2 separate regions of the Homo sapiens genome follow, and region 1 is linked to region 2. The links are contacts of gene promoters, found by promoter capture Hi-C in human tissues and cell types (Jung and others, 2019). All regions are on one chromosome and are shown on one strand. Each heading gives the region's core, a stretch centred on a gene start or on the middle of the fragment in contact. The rest is flanking DNA. Distances are from core to core; before and after follow the strand shown. Region 1 overlaps ARMC9 (armadillo repeat containing 9). Region 2 holds the start of ARMC9 (armadillo repeat containing 9).

Region 1 (6,506 bases), core at 3,008-5,507, 75 kb after region 2:
CACGCCTGGCTAATTTTTGTATTTTTGTAGAGACGGGGTTTCACCATGTTGGCCAGGCTGGTCTCAAACCCCTGACCTCTCTGCCCACCTTGGCCTCCCAAAGTCCTGGGATTATAGGCATGAGCCACCCTGCCCAGCCTCCCTAGCAGATGTCTTCATCTTTATTTTCTGACCCTTCTGTTGACACTTTTATTTCCTTTTTGATAGCATTCTCTTGTTTCATGGATATAATACAGTTTCTTATATCTTTGAGGATATTATTGATGAATTTTTATTTAATTTTTAGTTTTCTTCTCCCTGCACGGTCTCATTTACTCCAAGCCCCGCCCCCACCCTCCCCCCCTATTTGTTTTGGCCTCCTGGTAGAAACTTTTCTCAGATGTCTGCTAGTCCTTGGTGATCTCCTAATGAGAGATTTGGAGTGAAGGGGACCACAAAGCCATTGAGTGTGATGGTGGGGCCTGTCGATGGATAGTTCCACCCAGGGGGATCTGGGTGGGCCGTTTGCTGGGAACCTCTGATTTCACGGTCTCTAATTCTTTCCCCGTGGGCTGGTCATTTCACTGTGAGAATAGTCTTCTAATCTCAGGCCTAGAGGGCAAAGGTCTGGTTGCCAGGGTCCTGGGAGCCAAGTTTTGGGGTGGCCCTCTGTTCCACATTCATTCTGCATTTAGACACTAACCCCCCTCTCCATTTTGTTCTAGAACCCCGGCAAGCCTTGCTCTCCTCTGCCTGGTGTCCCAGATCCACAGACCCTTTGTGTCTCCCTCACAAGGGAACACCCTCTCCCCAGCCCTGTGCTGAGAGGTGTGCAGGAGTCACATGAGTGGGATCCAAGTGCTTCTTGAACAACTTTAATTCATTCGTCTTTATTTTTCTTCAGCTCTTAAGTGCTTTGAGGAGTGAGTAATGGAAATTGGGTAATTCCACAGTGCCCGTTGCTGCCTTGAGATTTGGCCTTCTTGAGCCTGCTAAGCCTCTTGCCATGCTGCAGTCCCACTTCCAGAATTGTGGCGTTATCGTTTCTCGTGCTGTTCTCTCTGTCCTTGGGAATTATCTTTTTTAACAGTCCATTTATTGTAGTTTTACTGTGGCTTAGAGGGAGCCAAATTAGTCATGTGTCTTGGATCTGCCATTCTAACCTGGAAAACAGCCGCAACGGTAACAGCAAACAGGACTGCTTCCCTCGCGCCAGTCACTGTTCTGAGGGCTTCGTGTAATTAATTCATTTAATTTGGAAGTCTGACTAACTTATTTTTGCCAAGTCTCATCAAATTTCAGTTGGAAAACAAGGATTCCAGATGAAATGTTTGGCTTTAGTCTGTTTATTTCACCTCTAATAAATTCAGGCAGAGGAAGAGAACTACCAGACCCGAAGAGGAGGCGTGTGTTTATCTCTCCGTGTTCTTAACCTTGTTTTTCCTCTTGACGTTTTCCCCCAGAGGAGTGTGCTTCAGTTGCTGCACTCCACGAGCGACGTGGTGCGGCAGTACATGGCCAGGCTCATCAATGCTTTTGCGTCACTGGCAGAAGGTGAGACATCAGCTTTGCTTCAAAGATAAGAGCTAGGTCATATTGATGTGCTTTTTCCTTTGAAAATGAGCGTTCCTCCCAAGTTTCTTAGAGATGACGCTTCCTCAGTTTGTTACCGTTTAATTCATCTAAGGTCTTTTGTGAAAATTAATTGTTGTCATATTGCTTTAGTTTATATCAGAGCACATTTGGACAGTTTTTGGGGTTTATTTTGTAAACCTCCCGGTTTTATTTTATAAAGCTTTCTGGTTTTGTAACATAGTAACATTTTATATTGCTTTCAAGTATATCACAGGTAATGAATGCATCTTCTATAATTTTCTACTTAAGGCAAAATAAGTGAAACAATTACGGCAAAATAAGCTTAGCGAAACAAAGCAGACTCCAATAAACACTGCACCATTTCCTTCAGAAGACTATGACCTCTTAAATCAAAGGATTTGAAAACTCTGAAAATAACATGCCCCCATAACTGAATTTAAAATGATTTTGCAAAGTGCCATTATCTTCCGTAAGTTCTTATTTATTTGAGCTCTTTATAATGTGAATAAAGGGAGTTTTCAAATTATGAATATATGATACTCCAAAACTTTGTTCATTTGTTCATTCGTTCTTCCATCCATTTGGCAGACATTTATGATAAGCCAGGATGTGTTACTGAGGACCATTCATATAATAATACTGTTGAAACTTATGTCTGAAATTAACATCTTCCATATCCATTCAGAAGTCCACAACAGGCTAGGGACCATTCTGGGCTTATTACAGGGTCCCAGGTGTGGCTTCCTGCTTCTTCTCCAGGCCTTGTACAGAGAGTGTGTATGGAAGCATTCCTTGGCTGCCTCTGTTGTGAAGACTTAAGGGCTCATAACACACACATTACCCCTCATTTCTCTTTGTAGATCTGACTGTTGGGTTCAGGATTTCATGGAAAAAAAAGGACAATGCTCCCCACAAGAACACAGCAATGAATTATGTTTAGCTCACAAGAAGAGTGGTTTTTCTAGTCACCAGATATTTCATTGAATAAAACCAACGTTTAACGTTTAGAAGAAATATCTTTTAATAAGTTTTAATAAGTTTTGTGGGGGTTTTGTGTGTGTGTGTGTGTTTGGTTTTTTTTTTTTTTTTTTTTTTTGAGAGAGTCTCACTTTGTCAACCAGACTGGAGTACAGTGGCATGATCTCGGCTCACTGTAGCCTCAACCACCTGGGCTCAAGGAATACTCCTCGCGCCTCAGCCCCCCAATTAGCGGGATCAACAGGTGTGCATCATCATACCTGGCTAATGTTCCTTAGTTTTTATAGAGATGAGGTTACGCCCTGTTGCCCAGGCTGGTCTCCAACGCCTCGGCTCAAACAGTCTACCTGCCTCAGCCTCCCAAAGTGCTAGGGTTACAGGCGTGAGCCACCTTGCACAACCAGTAAGTGTTTGTTTGTTTGTTTGTTTGTTTGTTTGTTTTGAGATGGAGTCTCGCTCCGTCATTCAGGCTAGAGTGTGGTGGCACGATCTCAGGCTCACTGCAACCTGCCTCCTGGGGTCTAGCAATTCTCCTGCCTCAGCCTCCCGAGTAGCTGGGATTACAGGCATCTGCCACCACACCCAGCTAATTTTTGTATTTTTAATAGAGACGGGGTTTCACCATGTTGGCCAGGCTGGTCTCAAACTCCTGGCCTCAGGTGATCTGCCTGCCTTGGCTTCCCAAACTGCTAGGATTACAGGCGTGAGCCACCGCGCCCTGCCCAGTAAGTTTTTTAGAACATAAAATTACCCAAACTCTACTGTGTTATATGCAAAGTAAGTTTTCGTGGAAAGTGGTTTTGTAGCATACCAGATAAATTATTTCTGTCTTTCACCTGTTTCATCTCTGGTGTATTATCAGGTCGCCTCTACCTTGCCCAGAACACAAAGGTGCTGCAGATGCTGGAGGGAAGGCTGAAGGAGGAGGACAAGGATATCATCACCAGGGAGAATGTTCTTGGGGCCCTGCAGAAGTTCAGTCTCAGGTAACGACTGTGCAATAGGTCACGGTGTCTCCTGTGAGATCAGATTGAGTTAAAATTCCCATGGCAACCCAGGAGGCAGATGGTATTTTTCCACTACACTTTGGAGAGGTTGGATGACTTTCTAAGACAGAGCTAGAAAGCTTATCTGTAATCCACTAAACTATCCTGCGCAAGGCTGCTGGGGATGGAGGAAGACATTTTCAAAGCATCATTGGATTTTCCTAATGGACATTATCGAGTGCCAGCCATGCAGGATTGTGTCTCAGGGCATGTGCAGGGCTTAGAGACAGACACATGAATCAGACCTGATAGAGCCTCAGCCCTCAAGTTACTTCCAGTCCCCTGTGGGAGCTGCACACATGAATGCACATCCCAGCAGAGTGTCAAGGGCAGTTCTGTGGAAGTCAGGGTTAGGGCCTCCTGACCTTGTCCATGATCCCAGCAGCCCACCCCATGGGATCAGCCTAGACCGTCATGACTTGGAACCAATGGGGCCAGGCTAATTTCTGTATTTCTAGTAGAGACAGGATTTTACCATGTTGGCCAGTCTGGTCTCGAACTCCTGACCTCAGGTGATCCGCCCACCTCAGCCCCCCAAAGTGCTGGAATTACAGGCGTGAGTCACCGCACCCGGCCCCGTAGGTTCCTTTTTAGTTTACAGTTTTGTTGAGATGTATTTACACACCATAATATTCCCCCATATTAAGCATACAATTGAAGGATTTTTAGTGTATTTACAGAGTTGTGCAGTCATCACCACAATCCAGGTTTAGCACATTTCCATCACCACAAAAAGAAACCTCATACCCATTTACAGTCACTCCTCATTCCTACCCCCAGTCCCCGGTAGCCACAAATCTGCTTTCTGTCGATTGACTTGTACTGGACGTTTCATATAAATGGAATCATGTAGTGTGCACTCTTTTGTGACTGGCTTCTCTCACTTAGCATCGCGTTTGCAAGGTTTGTCCATGTAGCAGCATGTGTCAGGGCCTCATTCCTTTTGTGGCTGAATATGTACTCCATTATGGCTACATCATATTGTTTGTTTGTTTTTGAGATGGAGTCTCACTCTGTCACCCAGACTGGAGTGCAGTGGCGCAATCTTGGCTCACTGCAACCTCCGCCTCCCGGGTTCAACCAATTCTCCTGCCTCAAACTCCTGGGTAGCTGGGATTACAGGCGCACACCACCACACCCGGCTAATTTTTGTATTTTTAGTAGAGATGGGGTTTCACCATGCTGGTGAGTCTGGTCTCGAACTCCTAACCTTGTGATCCACCCGCCTCGGCCTCCCAAAGTGCTGGGATTACAGGTGTGAGCCACCGCGCCCGGCCTACACCACATTTTGTTTGTCCTTCAGTTGATTGGCATTTGAGTTGTTTGCATTTTTGGCCAATATGCATAATGCTGCCATGAATGCTTCAGCACAAGTCTTCGTGTGGACATATGTTTCTTTTTCTCGTGGATCGGCATCTAGGAGAGGAACTGTTGGGACATATGGTAATTTTTTCAGAGTTTTTATTCTCTCATGATCACCTCAAGTTCTCTTTGACTTTCTTGAGAACTCTAGTCCCTGGAGTCTTCAACTTTTTTCTGTCGGTCCTCTTCTGAACACACTTTCTTCCCATCAAATGTGGTTTACATTTGACTGACTCACAAATAACCAGAAGCCTACAAAGTGAAATGGTCTAAGCATGTGTGTTTTTAGTGGGGGAAGGGATAGGTATTTGTATCTACCATTTGCCAGCTCCCTGCCAATGAAAATTCTTTGTTCTAACTATATGAATCGAAAAGAACTGTAAGTGCTGCAGAGTCATTACTTCCTCAGAGCATACAAACACTTCATTTCTTTTTGTTTATAGAGAGAACTTTGCTCCATGTTGATCGCTTTGGGGAAGTTTTTAGAAATTCAATAACTATAGTTAAGTAACAGATACAAGATATGGTGAAAAAAATACTTCCTCCTGGTAATGCAAATGTTTACTGCCTGTTTATCTTTTCCTCTAAGTGTTAATTTAAGCTTTTTTGTTCTGTAAATGTGCTTAACCTTTTTGCAGTTTTCCAGAGTCTCTGCAATAAATGAAGAAGGTAGCTAGTTACCAAGAGAGCGCAGTCTTCACTGTATTCTAATAAGCCACCCTGATTGGGTCAGTGTAGTGTTTAAGAACAGGATGAACGGATAACTGGTTCTGCTGTTCTGTCCTGAGTGGTGGTTTCACCATAACCTGCGCATCCGGAGATGTGCAGAGCTGGCTTCTCTGTGGCATGTCAGTTTTCTACTAATCCAGATGGCATCTCATAATGATACCACACTTAGTCTCAGCAATTCTTAAAGCTAACCTGATGACATTCACCATCACACATTTTGATGGGGTATTGGATTTTGTAAGATTCTACACCTGGACTTTGGGTGGAAAATCATTCCTTATAATTTGCATTAACCAGGTCATTAAACTACCCTTACTCTATAGAAATGTGAATCAAAGTGATGTTAAGCTAGGCTTTTGCTCCTCCTTGTTTTCTTTATTTTTATACAGCTCAGAGTGCCTAGAGCTGGATTATAGAGCGTTTAGGTAAAAATCTATTTGTCAGCTGGGCACGGTGGCTCACGCCTGTAATCCCAGCACTTTGGAAGGTTGAGGCAGGCAGATCAGCTGAGGTTGGGAGTTCGAGACCAGCCTGGCCAACATGAAGAAACCCTAGCTCTACTAAAAATACAAAATTAGCTGGGTGTGGTGGCGCATGCCTGTAATCCCAGCTACTTGGGAGGCTGAGGCAAGAGAATCACTTGAACCCAGGAGGCGGAGGTTGCGGTGAGCCGAGATCGTGCCATTGCACTCCAGCCTGGGCAATAAGAGCAAAACTCCGTCTCAGGAAAAAAAAACAAAAAACCTATTTGTCAAAGAAGTATTTCTATGGTCCTGTTTCCTGGGTTAAGTAAACCAAAAGCTACAAATAAATATT
Region 2 (5,768 bases), core at 1,383-3,882:
GCTATGAGGGAGGCTGAGGTGGGAGGATTGTTTGAGCCCAGGAGGCAGAGGTTGCAGCAAGCTGAGATTGCGCCACTGCACTCCAGCCTGGGTGACAGAGTAAGACCCTGTCTCAAAAAAATAAAAAATTTAAAAGACAGTTGATTGGAAGGATGCTGGAGGAGCTGTAAGAATAAGTGCAGCTCCAGGGAACTCAGATCCTGGGACCAGGGATTTGATGTCCCCAGCACTTTCTTTGCATTTCTCTAGGTAATGGCTTCATCTTCTCAGTCTTTCCCATGTAGTGAATGCTGTAGGCTGCCCTGGAGTCTCACTTTACAATAACCTGACCACACTTCAACAGCAAAATCCCAGGGAAGGACTATCATTGGCTTTGCTTGGCTCACATGCCCATCCTGGACCCATCACTGAGGCCAGAGGGATGGGGTAAGATTGGTCCAGTTTGGACCATCTGCCCATCCTGTGGTGAGGGATGGGGTATGTTACCAGAAGGGAGAGGGGAGGTAGACAGACAAAGACAATAGCCACCACAATGACCATAATCCCGGCAGTCAGGCAAATGCACTCAGGAGGGAAAGCAAAGCAGGTGGGGTGTTCACGGCAGCTCAGAGCCCAGGGTCCAGAGACACGGAGACCTGGGTTTAGTCCTGGTCTCCTCAGTGGTGTAAACTTTGAGGAGTTTCTTAATCCCGTATGCCTCATGTTGTTCATCTTGCCAAAGACAAAACAGACAGCTCTAATCTCAGCTAATCAACCATGAGACAAAGAATGAGAAGCTGAAAAGTCTGTCCTTGGCCTTGCCGGCAGACTCAGGCAGAAGGGAAAAGGTCTGCATTTGTCCTTGTCACAGGTAAACAAGGGGGTCATCCGTGCATCATATGGGAGGCATGAGAAAGACAGGACTGTGGGTCTGATGAAGTCATATGTGGAAGGGTAGTTCTTTCTGATAAGCTACTTCCCAGAACACAAAAGTGTGGAGGATTTTAGAAAACAAAAGGTTTGGGGGTGCGTGGGTGAGATTTCTTAACTGTGGCTGTTTTCTAAGAGCACACAGCTCAGGTTAATTACAACATTGTCAATCAGTAAAATGCTGAAAATATTATTCATCTCATAGATGTGGTGTGAGAATTAAAAACTTTTTTTTTTTTGAGACAGAGTCTCACTCTGTTGCCCAGGCTGGAGTACAGTGGCGTGATCTCGGCTCACTGAAACCTCCATCTTCCGGGTTCAAGGATTCTCCTGCCTCAGCTTCCCGAGTGGCTGGGACTACAGGCACATGCCAATACGCCCAGCTAATTTTTGTATTTTTAGTAGAGACAGGTTTCACCATGTTGGCCAGGCTGGTCTGAAACTTGTGACCTTAGGTGATCCATCTGCCTTGGCCTCCCAAGTGCTGGGATTACAGGTGTGAGCCACCGTGCCGGGCCTGGTGTGAGAACTAAAGAAAACAATCTATATGATTCACTTAGCACAATGCTGGGCACACATATAGGCTGCACGTTTTGCAAACAAAAATACAGAACAATATAACATCCTACATGCACAATAAAATGAAGCAGTTTTTGGGATTTACTTACACTAAAACATTATCTAAAATTTACATTTAACTGTGTGTTCTATATTTTGTCTGGCATCTCCCGGCATACAGTTGTGTTGACGATAAATATTATGGCCATGGATTGAAGATTTATTTTCAATCCATATTACCTGGACAGAAGATAGGGCTCTCTTCTACTAAATACAGCTTTTTTTCTTTTGGAAGACAATCCACTGGCAGGGTTGGGGACTGGGGAAGTGGTGGCCACAGCCCATCTTAGGGCTTCTTCAAAGGCGAGCTGACCTACCTTCTCCGTGCCCCATTCCCTGTCTCTGGCCCTGGTAGCCTCCTCCTTCTTGGAAGCATGGAGGTGGAAACACTGAGGTGGCAACGAGAGACTCCCACGGAATCTCAACGCCTGGAGGGGAGGGATTTTCTATCCATGGCCATCTCTTCACCCTCCAGCACAAAGTTGGGTGACTAGCAAGTGCTCATTCAGTGCTGATGAACTTCAGTTCAAAAGCATCAGGTGCAAAGAGAGGGAAGACGTGTGCTCCTGATTTATTTTTAATAGCCCACATTTGACATGGAAAACAAAAAGTTTCTCTGAAATCCTTGGAAACCGCTGCAGTGGGGCGGGACCCTGGTCCCCGGAGCTTTAATGCACATCTTGGGCGTCACTTTTGGTTCTAAGGTGGCCCCAGGTCCCTCCTTTAAGATGGGAATAACCATGCCTGACTCTTTCCCCACGGACACCACACTGTCCTAGTTTGTGTTCTCTACGCGACCACGAGCTCCTTGAGACAAGGGGTTGAGCCTGCTCCGGCTCATCCCGAGAGCCGGCGCAGCGACTGGCGCAACGAAAGGGAAATGAACGAATGAATGAACGAACGAAAGTGGAGTGGTGGAGAGGACCACAGAAGACGCGGTCATCCAGCGCGTGAACCTTCACCACTGCTGGGCTGTGGACCCTCACTTCCGCCGCCAGGAAGTTTCGGGGTCGCCCACCTTCCCTCCCAGGCTGCTCCGCGTCGGCGGCGCCCCGCGCGATTGGCTGCGCCGCCCCCACGTGACGCCGGGGTGGCGGCGGCGGTTGCCCGGGTGACGGCTGCGGAGGTGGCGGCCGGGCTGGGATAGCGCGAGTGTCCGCGGCCGAGCAGCAGGTAAGCGCGTCCCCGGATGCAGCCGGGCCACCCTCCGCCCGCCGTCCTGGTGCTGGGAGGAGCAGCGGTGCGTTTGGAGGGCCGAGGCTCTGCGGACCTCTTGTTCCGAGGAAAAACCCGACGCGCCCGCTCCGCCGCCGCCGGATGCTACCACTTCTCGCCTGCGGTCCAGGGATCTTTCTTCGGCAAGGGCCGAGGCGGCCGCCTGGACATCCCAAGAAAGGACAGGCCCAGCTGCTTCCCGCAAGTAGTCCCTGATCTTTGCTGCAGTGGGCCATACTTGGAGGGGGTCCCTCAAGCCATCCAGCTGGTGGTGGCGGCGCGAGCGGGTTATCCGGGATTTAGATCCCCCTGATAATCTCCATCTGCTAGCCGCGTTCCTGAGGCACCCAGTTGAAGTCCAGACTTCACCTAATCTTAGGAAAAACAGGATGCGTGCTATGCAGATTCGGCTTCCATACAAATCCCATAATCCCACCCGTTTGTGGGCCCTAAATCTTTCTTATATAGGAATTCAAAAGCTGCCGCTGCAATCCCCAAATGTAACTGGAAAAGTTTTTCTTAGTTTCCGCATAAAGGAGAGCACTGGTTCTCAAACTTGAGAGTGTGTAAAAGTCACTCAGGGAGCTTGTTTAAAAGGCAGATTTCTGGGCATGGTGCCTGCCACGGTGTTCAGTAAGACCAGGGTGGAGGCAGGAATTTTCATTTGCACAAGCGTGCCAGCTGATTCTGATTTAGGTGGTCCAGACTTTGGGAAATACTGTGTAGTGGTTCTTTTCAGCCGCTTAGTCACTTACTGTGGCTGTTGGGAGTGTGTCAGACTTCCTGGGCCTCAAATTGCCTCATCTGGAATGGGAAAATATAAACTATATTCACCTGTCAGGTTTACTATGAAGGTTAAATGTAAAACATTTTGCACATTGCCTGGCATACCATATACCTTCAATAAATGATACCTATTATGATATAAAAGTTTAGAGAAAATTCTGTAATTTCTTTTTCTTTTCCTTTTTTTGAGACGGAGTCTTTCCCTGTCGCTCAGGCTGGAGTGGAGTGGCATGATCTCGGCTCACTGCAACCTCCACCTCCTGGGTTCAAGCGATTCTCTTGCCTCAGCCTCCCTGGTAGCTGGGATTACAGGTGCAGACGCCACCACGCCCGGCTAATTTTTGTATTTTTAGTAGAGATGGGGTTCCACCATGTTGATCAGGCTGGTCTCGAACTCCTGACCTCAGGTGATCCGCCTGCCTCAGCCTCCCAAAGTGTTGGGATTACAGGTGTGAGCCACTGTGCCTGGCCAATTCTGTAATTTCTAAGAATGTTGAGTAATAGGATACCCAGCAGCACTCACATTCAATGACAGTTGATCACAGCAGATACTATTTAAACGGCTTAGGGAGGTCTACTCTAAGGAGGTGATGTTTATTAGGCACAGTGGTTAACCAGGTGAAGAGAGGGAAGAGTGTTCTAGGCGGAGAGAGTAATATGCGCAAAGGCCTTGAGGTTGGCCTCAAGGTTTCAAATTCTCAGAAACTCACTTTTCCCGTTCCAGGGCCTTTAAAATGACATCCCCTCAGCTCCGGCTTCATTTATTCATTATATGCCTTGAGTACCTTTCTTGCTTACTAGACACTCTGTTAGGTTCTGGGGATATGAAGTTGAAATACAGCTCCCTGTCTTTGTGAACAGGGTTATAAGAAGTGCCAGGTGCAGTGGCTCATGCCTGTAATCCCTGCACTTTGGGTGGGTGAATCGCTTGAGGTCAGGAGTTCAAGACCAGCCTGGCCAACCTGGTGAAACCCTGTCTCTACTAAAAATACAAAAATTAGCTGGGCGTTGGTGGCGGACGCCTGTAATCCCATATACTTGGGAGGCTGAGGCAGGAGAATCACTTGAACCTGGGAGGCAGAGGTTGCAGTGAGCCAGATTGCACCTTTGCACTCCAGCCTGGGCGGCAAAAGTGAAACTCCATCTCAAAACAACAAAATTAGCTGGGCGTCATGGCGCATGCCTATAACCCCAGCTACTTGGGAGGCTGAGGTGGGAGAATCACTTGAACCCAGGAGGTGGAGGTTGCAGTGAGCCGAGATCCCGCCACTGCACTCCAGCCTGGGCAACAGAGCTAAACTCCATCTCAGAAAAAGAAAAAAAAAAAAAAGCCTTGGTAGGGAAAGAAGGGAGGGGTTTTTCATGGAAGACTTCTTGAAAAGAGATTAAATCTGGCTTGGCTTAGAATCATGAGTCATGTTTGCCTGGGGGGGCAGAGCATACATCAACCACAGGCTTAGGATCCTGGAAGAGCTTGTTGCATGGGGGAATGGCCAGGAGTTCGCTGTTGGCAGGGTCCAGTGTGGGATTGGTGGAAGGGAGCAAGGAGAGGGATCAGGTAGGGGGAGGTGGATGGATTGGAGGCATGGTCCAGAAAAAGGCTGGAGAGGTGGGTGTCCCCCAGGAGCAGCTGCCTTTCTTCTCTCCCCTTTTGCATCTGGCAGGGCTGGTGTGGTGCATGGGGAGGTGTCCTCCCTGCTCCTCATTACTGCTTCCAGATCACTACCCACTCCTTCACAAACCCCAGCTCCTTTGAAGCACATGGCAGATGCCATACCCCTTGCCAGCCCTCCCTGAGGTAGCCACTTCCCAGGGCAAGTCTCTCCAGTTCCCTTGGAGCCTCCAGCACCCGGCTGGCTGCCTATCCCTTCATCTCTTTTACTTCACTTTTGGGGGTTTCCACATCCTGGCCCCTCCAGTTTCTTCATCCTCCTTACTTGCAGGCGTCTCTTTCCTCCATCCTCCTCATCTGCCCACTCCCGTGGTCGGGAGCTTTTTAGTACTAGTCACCTTCAAAGTCTTGCCTTCAGGCATCTGTCCCACTCTCTGCCCACTCCTTTCCATCTTTCACACTCACTGGAATGTGCCTCCTTCAGCAGGTCTCAGACCCCACTGCTTCCTCACTGCTCTGCAGCCGCCTTATGTGTGTTCCCCTCCCCCATTCTTAACCTGATTAGTTCCAGTGTCCCATCGTGGTTGTACTGTTTTCCCTTTCCTCTCTCTTCTAGAAGAACCTCTCA

What was found. The method cuts DNA at HindIII sites, captures the fragments that hold promoters and counts their contacts. A contact is called where the count stands out against the background at its distance.
Region 1: a fragment that was not itself captured here is called in contact with the fragment with the promoter of ARMC9 in region 2 in 2 of the 25 tissues and cell types used here (IMR-90 fibroblasts and adrenal gland).

The regions. Positions count from the first base shown.
Region 1 is chr2:231,269,540-231,276,045 of GRCh38, forward strand. ARMC9 (armadillo repeat containing 9) reads left to right here. Exons shown (of 25, transcript NM_001352754.2): 13 at 1,443-1,533; 14 at 3,416-3,539. Among named protein-coding and RNA genes, the nearest start is that of ARMC9, 74 kb to the left of the region's middle. The HindIII fragment of the contact is 4,844 bases long and covers 1,836-6,506 here.
Region 2 is chr2:231,195,999-231,201,766 of GRCh38, forward strand. ARMC9 (armadillo repeat containing 9) reads left to right here and starts at 2,633. Exons shown (of 25, transcript NM_001352754.2): 1 at 2,633-2,700. RefSeq lists a silencer at 2,439-2,778. The HindIII fragment of the contact is 14,859 bases long and covers 1-5,768 here.